Linked DNA regions of Homo sapiens: regions 1 and 2 are each linked to region 3. Evidence: promoter capture Hi-C in 16 types of primary human blood cells and fetal thymus (Javierre and others, 2016). All regions are on one chromosome and are shown on one strand. The core of a region is centred on a gene start or on the middle of the fragment in contact, and the rest is flanking DNA. Distances in the headings are between cores, read along the strand shown.

Region 1 (3,582 bases), core at 172-2,671, 630 kb after region 3:
AGAGGGTATATTTCTGTCGTTTGAAGCCATCAGGCGTGTGATCATCTATACAGCAGCCACAGACGCGAATCCAGGGTTCAACAGACATCTGTGGCACAGGCTGCCCTTGCGCCCAGAGCTGTGCCTGAGAAGTAAATGGCTCACAGAGCAGACAAGATGAAGACATAACCCAACCACAAAAGCCCCCTGGCCCGCCGGGTATACTTTCCTGCAGGGGAAAGGTGGGCACAGGGGAGTCAGGGAAAGAGAGGCGAGAACTGGAGTCTTGGCTGCAACAGCCAGTGAGTGCATTCTCAGTTCAAGCCACTGCACTGGGCTCCAGGGACTTCTTTCCACTGTTATTGATTGCACTCTAGAGGAAAATTGGAAAGCACAGGAAAGTAGAAAAAAAAATCCACATTACTATAAGCTTTTGTTTTATTTCCATCCAGTCATTTGTTTTCCCCACGCATAAGGGTTTGGTTTTGTTTTTATTTTTTTAATTGTGGTAAAATACACATAACAAAATTTATCAAAGTGTACAGCTCAGCAATATTATTGAATACACTTACAATGTTGTGCAACTAGCACCACCATCCATTTCTAGAACTCTTCATCTTGTCAAACGAAATTCCATACCCACAAACAATAACTCTCATGCCTTCCTCCCCAGCCTCTGGCAACCACCATTCTACTTCCTGTCTCTATGATTTTGACTACCCTAAGTGCCTCATATAAGTGGAATCACACAGAATTTGTCTTTTTGTGACTGACTCATTTCATTTAGCATAATGGCCTTAAGGCTCATCCATGTGGCAGCATACTGCAGGATTCCTTTCCTTTTTAAGGATGAGTAACATTCACTGTGTGTATGCACCACATTTTGCCTAGCCATTCATTCCTCTGTTGGTGGAAACTTGGGTTACTATAAACATTGGTGTGCAAATATTAGATAGTGCAAAATTTATTGTGGTTTTTGCCATTACTTTCAATATCTCTGAGGCCCTGTTTTTAGTTCTTTGGGTTATATACCCAGAAGTGCAATTTCTGAATCACATGGTAATTCTATGTTCAATTTTTTGTTTATGTATGTATGTATGTATTTATTTATGTATGTATGTATGTATGTATGTATTTATTGGGAATGGGGTCTTGCTGCATTGCTCAGGGTGGTCTCGAACTCCTGGGCTCAAGCAATCCTCCCTCAACCTCCCAAGTAGCGGGGATTACAGGCATGAGCCCCTGGCTTTATGGTGTTTGTTTGTTTGTTTGTTTGAGACAGGGTCTTGCTCAGTAATCCAGGCTGGAGTGCAGTGGCACGATCACTGCTCACTGTAGCCTTGACTTCCTGGGCTCAAGCAATCCTCCCACTTCAGTCCCCCAAGTAGCTGGAACTACAGGTGCACACCACTATGCATGGCTAATTTTTTTTTTTTTTTTTTTTAGTGGAGATGCGGTCTCACTATGTTGCTCAGGCTGGTTGTGAGCTCCTGAGCTCAATCGATCCTCCTGCCTCAGCCTCTCAAAGTGCTGGGATTACAGGTGTAAGCCACGGTGCCCAGCCTCTGTTTAATTTTTTAAGAGATTGCCATACTGTTTCCATAGAGACTATAGCATTTTACATTCCCACCAATAGTGCACATGTGTTCCAATTTCTCTACATCTTCATCAATACCTATTTTCTGGTTTTGGGTTTTTGTTGTTGTTGTTTGTTTGTTTGTTTGTTTTGAGACAGAGTTTCGCTCTTGTCGCCCAGGTTAGAGTACAGTGGCACGATCTCGGCTCATGCAACTTCCACCTCCTGGGTCCAAGCCATTCTCCTGCCTCAGCCTCCCAAGTAGTTGTGGTTACAGGTGTGCACCACCACGCCTGGCTAATTTTTGTGTTTTTAGTAGAGACAAGGTTTCACCATGTTGGCCAGGCTGGTCTCAAACTCCTGACCTCAGGTGATCCATCTCCCTCAGCCTCCAAAACTGCTGGGATTATAGGCATAAGCCACCATGTCCAGCCAATTTTCTGGGGTTTTTTTGTATTGTTTTTTTGTTTTTTTTTTTTAATAGCAGTCTTCTTAATAGATATGAGGTAATATCTCATTATAGTTTTGATTGGCATTTTTCTAATGCTCATTTTTCCATGTGCTTATTGGCCATTTGTCTTTTTAAATGGAGAAATGTATTTTCAAAACCTTTGTCCTTTTTTGAATCAGGTTGTTTGTCTTTTAGTTGTTGAGTTTTAGAAGTTCTCTATATATTCTAAATATTAATCCTTTATCAGATATATAATTTGCAAATATTTTCCTCCATACTGTGGGTTGCCTTTTTACTCTGTTGATAGTGTCTTAGGATTAACAAAATTTTTTTAACTTTTATGAAGTCTAGTTTTTCTTTTTTATGAAGTCTGTTGTCTGTGCCTTTGGTGTCATATCTAAGAAATCATTGCCAAATTCGATGTTGGTAAGCTTTTGCCTGATGTTTTCTTGTAAGAGTTCCATGCATAGGTTTATTATTTGTTCATTTCAGTCCCAAGATGTCATCTGTCACCCAGGCCATCTGAATCCTTGTTAAAGAAAAGGGCACAACTGTTCTTTGTCATGTCCATCCAGCTGCAGGACTTCTGATACCTCCCTACCATTTGTCAAACCAACCCCAACTCCTCAGCCTGGTGTTTAAGGCCATCTGCATCCAGCCTTCCCTCCTGACTGGCCTTCCCTCCACTGGCCCCTATACATCCTGTTCACATGGCTCTTCTCACACGCTCACCCTTGCTCCGTGCCTCTGCTCACCTGGAATGAGCTTCTTCCACCTTCCTCTAATTCCTATAAACAAGAATCCACTGAGACAGTCCACATTCCAGGGCCCCTGTGCTGGGCCCTGTCCAAGGTCCTGGAGATGAACATAAACAAGATGTGAGAGTGGCGGGAGAGGGTCATGGATGCATTCTCTTTAAGACTCTTTCGGCTTTGAAGAATAAGAAACTGCTCAAAGTAGCTTAAGCCAAAAGAGAAGCATATTTGAAGGGACACAGGAATTTCTCAGAACAGAAGGGCAAACAGCCCAGTCAGGGCTCATGGGAACTGGGAATTAGAAAGCTTTCTGCCTCGCCGAGCTTCATAATCTCTGGGCCTCCACTTCCTCTTCTCCCCTCCCTGGGCTGGCTGCCTCTGCTCACCCATTTTGCCCTTGTCTCGTCATGCCACTGGCCCCCAACTCCACGTCATTGCCTCTCAGCCCAGGGGTCACCAACAACAGGCAACGGTGTCTATGCAGCCACATTTCAGACTCTCTCGAGAGAATCTACCTGGCTTCCACACTCTCTAGGGACCCTATTTGTTTGGCATCCTGTCACTGACTGTGGGTGAGCCCATGGGTCCCTGACTCAGGTGCCCACCCCAGGTCCAATCAGCTGTGGCTGGAGAGGGAGGGTGAGGAAGGCAGGGGCCACTGGATCACAAGGTTGTTCTTCCTGGAGATTGCTTCTCCCGGATCAGAGTCTGAATTTTATCAGGATCCCTGGGTGAATCATGGGCAGATTAAAGTGTAAGAAGCAGGCCGGGTGCAGTGGCTCAGCCCTGTAATCCCAGCACTTTGGGCCAAGGCAGGAGGA
Region 2 (4,051 bases), core at 1,223-3,722, 620 kb after region 3:
AGCCCATTTCTCCTTGACGTCCTCCTTCATGGGCACAGAACAGTAGTGGAGGAAAAGCCCCACTGTTTTTCCAGTTCAGGCCACCCCCTCCCCGTCCCTTAGTGTGACAGCACAGCCCCTGCCCAGAGGTCCTCAGCCTCCCCTCCAGGCCTCCTTCTCTAGCCCCCTGCTACTGATGGCTCAGCTCTCCTGGGACCAGGACTGGGTGGAGAGTCAGATGGGGAAAACCATGTGTTAGCAGATGAGGTGGGTTTGGAATCCATAGAATAATACCTTCATTGTGGGTATTGTAGATTACTTTGCCATCCACAAACATCCTTATAACATTTGTCTTTTTTTTTTTTTTTTTTTTTTTTACTACGTGGGTAAATCTCTGTTCGGGGCTCTCAGCTCTGAAGGCTGTGAGACCCCTGATTTCCCACTTCACATCTCTATATTTGTGTGTGTGTGTCTTTATTTGTTTATTTTTATTATACTTTAAGTTCTAGGGTAATCCTCAACTAGCCCACAGAGGTAGTAACCCACCTGTTTTGCAGCCAGGGAAACTGAGGCCTGGCAGCTCCCCTAAGATTGAAGGTCTGGTTCCAAGTCTAAGGCTTTTTTCACCCCTCAGTGAACTGAAGGGGCTTGGGTTCTGGGAGGCCAGAACCAATGAAGAGCTCTGTGGCAAGAGGGCAGCAAGGAGGCCTCAGGGTCTCCGTGATCTGGGACGTGCCCCACGTGAAGATGGGACTTCCCCAAAGATGGCCCCACCAGTGTCCAGCCGCCGAGCAATGAGAGTTCTGTGGATCCAGCATCTCCTTCCCCAGCTTCCTGACATCCTCCACCCCCCAGCTCCTTAAAATGATGCTTAATTTCAAACAATGCAGCCGGGGCCACCATCAGCCACAGTGGGCCCCCCTACACCCCAGCCAAGGAGTGTGCTGCTGGCCTCCAGCCCAGGGGTACCTCAGAGCCAGCTCATCCAAACTGCCAACTGACTTCCAACTCAGCTGCCCACACTTGCTTCAAACCGAGGAGAATGCTTTCTACAATTTGCTAACAGCAACACTGATCATTATTGATTGTTTACCGGGCATCAGGTGCTGCTTAGCCCCTCACATGTTTATCTCATTGACTCTTTATACTGCCCTATGAGGCGGGGCTGTTATCCCCATTTAACAGATAAGGCAAATAAAACCCAGAGAGGTTAAGATACCTGCCTGATGGCACCCACGGATGGATGAAAAGCCAGGGAGGCCACACTAGGCATCCGTGAAGCTTAACCCCTATGCAGTGGGAGTTCTTAGTAAGGCTGTCCTCCCAGCCCCACTGCCCCTTCCAATCCCCTCCCCAGGGAAATCCTTCCATCCCCAGTCTGTGGTCAAACAGCATTCAGAGATGAGCTAGCTGAAGGAATTGGAGCCTGCGGAGCGTGGGCCTCGGGCAGCCCACTCCCCAAATCTGGCCTCCAAGCCAGCTCCACCTGCCAGTCTCCCGTCCCCAGCCCCATCCCAGCTCTACCTCAGAGCATCACCTCCCACCCCTGCCCTCAGCTCACCAACACCTGCAGGTCCTGCTGGCAGACCAGGCTCAAGAGAGGCCTGGGCCATATATATTTATCAAAGCTCTCAGTGGCTTGGGAACACCAATGAGACTATTATTTGGAGATAAGGCCAGAGACCACCCTTGGCTGCCAGATAGCAGCCCTACCGGCTTCTGTCCCTCCAAGGGGTCCTTGACTGATCCCTGCTGCCCAGCCTCATTGCCCATTGGGCCAAGGCAGGTGGAGCAGAAGAAGGGGTGGTGGCCTCTTAGGTGCCTAAGGAGCCCAGGTTGGGGGCACGGCAGGCATCAGCTAGGGTGAGGGGGCATGGGGGCAGCAGCTGGTGGGCCTGCCTGGCTCATCCTCATCACAGGGGAAGGGGGAGGGAGTGGATGGCAATCCACTCTAGAACATGCAGCGGGGAAGCTGCTGGGCAGGGCAGCAAGGGCAGGTGAGGGGCCAGGTGAACTAGGCCCCTTCCCCACCCTTCCTGAGACCTGCTGCCTGGGGCCTGCTGGCCCTGCTGCCCTGTGTGTTGAAGATAAATGTTCCAGGTGCACCTAGGTCCTCAAGTAGAAGGCAGAGACACTACCCCAGCCTGCTCTGGGCAGCCACCCCGAGAGCCCAGGCCATAGCTGAGGGGGCAGTAGGGTGGGGGGAGGGAGGGGGAGTTGTGGGGAGCAAAGTCACAGATACAGGGGGTGCCCTCCAGGAAAGGAGTTGAATCTGGAGTGGGGGTGGGGAGGGTGGCGGGACTGAAGTCTTGGAGCGGGATTTCAGCCTGGCAGTGGGCCATGGCCCCAAGGGGCATCAGCCACTCATGTGAGGGCACTGACCAGTGCTCTGAGTGGCCACCAGAGGAATGATTCCAGGGCTGATGGATGGGGGTGGGCACAGGGATGGGGGACCTGGGGAAGCAATGATCAAACATACCCACGAAAGCCTTCTGTGAGTGGGGTCCCAGGCAGAGTCTCGGAGGGAATGAGCCTTCTGCGAATTATCTGGGCCCTGGGCAACCAGTCCACGGGTAGATCTGGGAGAAGGGGCAGGAGCAAGCTCTGCTTGAGGTGTCTGTGCAGACCCCCAAATTGGGGCATGTGCTGGTGTGATGGAGTCCAGAAGAACTAAAATGAGACCTGTCCTGAGGAGAGAGCAGCTGGAGGGGACTGGAGTTGCTCCATTTCGTCTGGGCGCTGTGGCTCACACCTGTAATCCCAGCACTTTGGGAGGCCAAGGTGGGTGAATCACTTGAGGCCAGGAGTTCGAGACCAGCCTGGCCAACATGGTGAAACCCTGTCTCTCCTAAAAATACGAAAATTAGCTGGGCATGGTGGTGGTGCATGCCTGTAATCCCAGCTACTCGGGAGGCTAAGGCAGGAGAATCACTTGAACCCGGGAGGTGGAGGTTGCAGTGAGCTGAGATTGTACCACTGCACTCCAGCCTGAGGGACAAGAGCGAAATTCCATCTCAAAAAAAAGTCCCATTTCAACCATGTTAGTGCACAATTCAGTGACTTTAAATACACAATGTCGTGCAACTGAAACCACTGAGATAGAAAAAGTTCTGGAACTTCTTCATCACCCCAGATGGAAATCCCATACCCACCAGTCACTCCTCATTCTCCCCTCCCCCAGCCCCTGCCCGCCACGAATCTGCTCTCTGCCTCTGTAGATCTGCCTGTTTTGGCTGTTTCACGTAAGTGGAATTAATCGTACAATATGTGTCCTTTTGTGTCTGGCGTCTTCATTTAGCATAATGTGTTTCCACTTAGCATAATGTGTTTCGGCTTAGCATAATGTTTTCAAGGTCCATCCACATGGTAGCAGGTATCAAAACGTCATTCCTTCTTATGGCTGAATGCTATTCCCTTGTGTGGAGAGACCGCAGTTTCTCCATTCATCAGTGGATGGACATATGGGTTCTCTCCACCTATTCCAAGTTATCATGAATAGTCCTGCTATGAGCATGCATGTACACGCTTTTGTTTGAAGGCCTGATTTCAATTCTTTGGGATATATAGCTGGGAGTATAAGTGCTGGGTCATATGATAACTCTGCTTAACTTATCTAGGAACCACCAAGCTGTTTCCTGCAGCGGCTGCACAATTTTCCATTCCCACCAGCAGTGTATGAGGGTCCCAACTTCCCTATATCCTCGACAAAGCTTGTGATTGTCTGGGTTTTGTGACAAAGTGGGTGTGCTGGTTCTTGTTTTTTAAAAGATCCACGACTCCCTGCGTGGAGAACAGGGCCTGGAGTGAGGGTCTAGGTTGCCCATTCGTTGCTGGGGGGCCAGAAAGGGTTTTACTGTCACAGCCCTCCTGTGGCCTACAGGCGAGCCTCCCTCTCCTAACCACCCTCCTGCCAACCTCCCCTTTGAAATGGGAGCACTCGGAAGGGACAGCTGGCAGCCTCCTCCCCTGGGCTCTGCCTGCTTCTCCTCACACCGGCTGGTGGTTTGTTTGCCAGTCACTTGTATTTGTTCCTGAACATGTTTCTGACAGTTCACTTGTCATTGTAATTACT
Region 3 (3,801 bases), core at 1,238-3,737:
AGTCTGATAACTACTGCATTCGTGGCTCCCCGCCTGGCTTGGGTTTCCAGCTGCAGGGCACGCTCCTACCCTTCTCTTTTCCTCTCACAGAAGTAGTTCTGGGCAAGAGGAAGCATGAACAGCTGGTCCCATAGGATGACTTGAAGCAGCCACTCTCCTAGAGAGGTTAAAAGTCTGTCCCTCGCTAGGCTGCAAGCAGCCCAAGGACCAAGGCATTTCTCATCTGCCACAGAATCTGCAGGACCAAGCACAGTGATGGGCATGTAGCTGATGCTAAGTAAAGGTTTATTGTTCAATTGAAAGAGACAGCCATTGAGGAATCAGGGAATCCATTCTTTAAAAAAATGTGTTTTTATTCATTAAAAAAAAAAGTCTTCCAGGCTGGACGGGGTGCCTCATGCCTGTAATCCCAGCACTTTGGGAGGCCGAGGCAGGCGGATCACTTGAGGTCAGGAGTTCGAGACCAGCTTGGTCAACATAGCAAAACCCCGTCTCTACTAAAAATACAAAAATGAGCTGGGTGTGGTGGCACGCACCTGTGGTCCCAGCTACTGAGGAGGCTGAGACTGGATAATTGCTTGGACCTGGGAGGTGGAGGTTGCAGTGAGCTGAGACCGAGCCACTGCACTCCAGCCTGGGCAACAGCGAGAGACTCCATCTTAAAAGAAAAAAAAAAGTCTTCCACGACAGTTATCTTATAGAGACAAGAAGAAGAAGAAAGAAGGAGAAGAAGAGGAGGAGGTCCTAGCTAATCTCAAGGGCAAGGACCCAAGGGCAAGGCTCTGGTCTGTCTGAGAAGGAGAATATGGCAGTGTGCAGGGAATGGATCATTTTCCCTGCATGCCCAAGGAGAATTCTGCTTTGACTCACCTTGGAGGTCCTTGGTCAGGCCACGAAACCAGTGATCACATCTCTCACCCATCTGGGGTGCTGGTGACCTTGGCAGAAGAAAGGCTTAAACCAGGTCAGCCTGGGGGAAGGGGCTGGCTCCTTCCAGGGTCTTCCTCCAGATTAGATGTTAACTCTCCGTCTCTTGCTTAAAGTCTTGTCAGTGGCTCTGAATGTGAGGGCAGAAGGAGGAGGATGCTGTCAGGGGAGGGGACACTAATGGCTCCTGACCTGGCCTAGAGATAATTCGGGGCTCCTTCAGCGGGCCCTCCCTCCTCAGTGCCCTGGAAGTGTAGGGAGGGGTCAGTTGGGGATCCCCACAAATTAAATGGGGAATGAGAGGAGCAACTGAAAGTCTCAAATTCAGGCTATAGATGGGACCCCAGCCCCCCATACTCTCCCGTCCTACATGAGATGGGCAGTGGAGGGCCAGGACAGCAACTCCAAGCCAGTGTAGGTTTTGGAGGTAGACAGTGAGGAGGCTTGCTTCTGTCCTTTGTTAGCTGAGTGCCCTTGGACAGCTTACTTACCTACTCTCAGCCTCAGTTTCCCCATCTCTAAAATAAGGCTACCAATACCTACCTTCTCTGGCCATTGTCAGGATGAATGAAAGAGCTCTGAAAGTATTTCTGTAATTAGCAGACATCAGAGATTGTTATTCTCCAAGGTAAGAGGCCCCCCTAGATCCCTGGCGGTGACAGTGTCAAGATTCTTTTTCCCTCCTCTGCGGTGCCCACTCCTTTTCCAGCCTTGTGGCTGGCTCTCATCCTCCTTTCCGCAACCCCCCACTCCTCCTTGGGACCACCTTGGCGGGCCCAGCTTCTCGCAGCCTGCCATATTCCATAGGTGCCCCCATTCTAAAACCTGTAGGGGTGCCCTGCACAGGCGCACGGTTGGTCGAGGTGGGACAGGTGGCGGGGGTCTCCACTGGCCTGCGTCCGCGCCCCCCACCCTGTTTAGGAGTTCCTGTTTGGAGATGGCTCCCCCTCGTCCTCAGCTCGTCTCTGGGCTAAGCAGGGGAGGAGAGAAATAAAAGGTGGGGGGCCTGGAAGGGGGTTCCCACCTTCTCAGTCCGGGACGCGAGACGGGAACGCAGCCCTGGCGCCCCAACGCTGCACCACCGTGGGTCTCCGAGCCGTGCTCGCAGTCGCTGAGATCCTCGGTGCGGAGAAGATGTGCCCCTCCAATCCCCAGGCCGTGATCCCCTTCACCCAGACCCGGCCAATCCCTCGCCCGAGGCGAGCGGGAGGATGCGGTTCTAGGACCCGGAGGCGCCGCCGAGCGCGCCGCCGCCTCGGCCTCGCCTCGGTGGCCTCCCGCTCCGGCAGGTGAAGCGGCGCCGGCCGCCCCCTCTGCGGCAGGTGAAGCGGCTCGGCAGCCCACTCCCCGCCCGCCATGGTTGCGGGGGTCCCCCGGCCAGCGCCCGCCCCCTCCCTCCAGCCCGCCCCCCTGGGGCTGGGTGCCCGGCGGCGGCGGCGGCGAACTGCGGTTTGCGCGCACGGGGAGCGACAGCAGAAGTTCGAAAATCGCCGAGGGGGGAGCCAGCGCCGCAGCTTCCTGCCCCCGGCCCAGCCCTCTGGCCCCGGCGGCCTGCAGCCTGACTTCCTCCCCCAACCCTGCAGCTCGCCGCCCGGTCCCACGGACGGGGCCGCCCCGATGGGACGCCGCGCTCCGGCCCCTGCGCGCCGCTGAGCCGAGCGCCCCCCGCTGCCGAGACCCCCGCCGCCACCGCCAGCCGCTGCCCCCTCGCCCCCGCCCGGGCCGGGAGCCTCGTCCCCGTCCCCCGGAAAGCTGGATTTCCGAGGCTGGAGGCGCCTGGCCGGCTGGGTGGGGACCACCATGGGCAACGCGGCCGGCAGCGCCGAGCAGCCCGCGGGCCCCGCCGCGCCGCCCCCCAAGCAGCCCGCGCCTCCCAAGCAGCCGATGCCCGCGGCCGGAGAGCTGGAGGAGAGGTTCAACCGCGCCCTGGTGAGTGCGACCCGGAGGCGGGTCGGGCGCGGGCGGGGGGCGGCAGGGGCGCGGCAGGGGCTGGGCGCGCGTCCCCGCCCCCGGGGACTCAGGTGCCGCTTGGAGATCCCCGGTCCGGCAGCTGCCCCCTCCAGGAGGTGGGAGCGACAGTGGCCTTTTTTTCAGAGTGACTTAGCACTCTCCCCCCAAAACTTTCTTCAGTTATCGCCCGGTCTCCCTCCCTAAGACGCCTCCACCCCAGCTGGGTCTTAAGGTCTAAACAAGTATGTCCTGTGAAGAAGTTGGGAGCGGGGCACGCACAGGGGTCCCGGGTCGCCCCCTTCCCCACTGCACGCAGGCCCAGCCACCGGGCGCGGGTCTGGGGCATCTGCCTTTCTGTGTCTGGAGTCAAAGATGAAAGGGTTACAACCTCCCGGGAGCGGGAGACCTGCTGGAGGTGTTGGGTCCTGATTTGTTGGGCGCCTGGGCTGCGGGGAATGGGGTTGTCGGATCATGGCCAGGAGGTATCTGTGTTTCTACCCCGCCATATGTCAGAGCCAGGGTGCCTGTGGGTCTTTATCTTGGGGCATCCTTTCCAAGCCACTGAAGGGAGTAAGATGAGGGAGGGTGGGGTCAGGACGGGTGGGTCGCCCAGGCTAGGGGTGGAGCAAAATCTGGAACCACCCCCCTCTGTGCCTACCTGGGGAATTGGAGCGGGGTCGCTGGGGAATAGGTCTCTGGGAGGGAACCAGCAGCTCAGGCCGAGCCTGGAAACAGTCAACATGTTCAGTGGGGTGGGGGCTCCAGAGCAGACTCAGGGGTCTCCAAGACCCTGCATAAGGCAGAAGTAGGGAGAGGAAGAGCTGCTCACTCTCACTCTCCCCACCCCCGACGCCCTGGCCCTGGCTCCCTCCTCTAACTAATTGCCTGGTGGCCTGCCTGCTGTCAGCCTTCCCTTGCTGGACG

The links. The method cuts DNA at HindIII sites, captures the fragments that hold promoters and counts their contacts. A CHiCAGO score of 5 or more calls a contact.
Region 1: a contact is called between a fragment that was not itself captured here and the fragment with the promoter of FMNL1 in region 3, in 1 of 17 cell types (endothelial precursors). The highest score is 6.1, in endothelial precursors.
Region 2: a fragment that was not itself captured here is called in contact with the fragment with the promoter of FMNL1 in region 3 in 1 of 17 cell types (endothelial precursors); the score reaches 6.0 in endothelial precursors.

What each region holds. Positions count from the first base shown.
Region 1 is chr17:45,855,358-45,858,939 of GRCh38, forward strand. The region is part of intron 1 of MAPT-AS1 (MAPT antisense RNA 1); the gene reads right to left. Among named protein-coding and RNA genes, the nearest start is that of SPPL2C, 12 kb to the left of the region's middle. The HindIII fragment of the contact is 2,028 bases long and covers 408-2,435 here.
Region 2 is chr17:45,838,157-45,842,207 of GRCh38, forward strand. No RefSeq gene overlaps it. Among named protein-coding and RNA genes, the nearest start is that of SPPL2C, 4.7 kb to the right of the region's middle. RefSeq lists a silencer at 2,292-2,501. The HindIII fragment of the contact is 2,429 bases long and covers 1,259-3,687 here.
Region 3 is chr17:45,219,398-45,223,198 of GRCh38, forward strand. It overlaps FMNL1 (formin like 1), which reads left to right and starts at 2,488. Exons shown (of 27, transcript NM_005892.4): 1 at 2,488-2,856. The coding sequence starts at 2,728. FMNL1-DT (FMNL1 divergent transcript) reads right to left here and starts at 2,368. Exons shown (of 3, transcript NR_147507.1): 1 at 1,952-2,368; 2 at 871-1,057. RefSeq lists silencers at 2,063-2,512, 2,523-2,572, 2,853-2,962, 2,885-3,179 and enhancers at 3,026-3,526, 3,527-3,801. The HindIII fragment of the contact is 10,145 bases long and covers 1-3,801 here.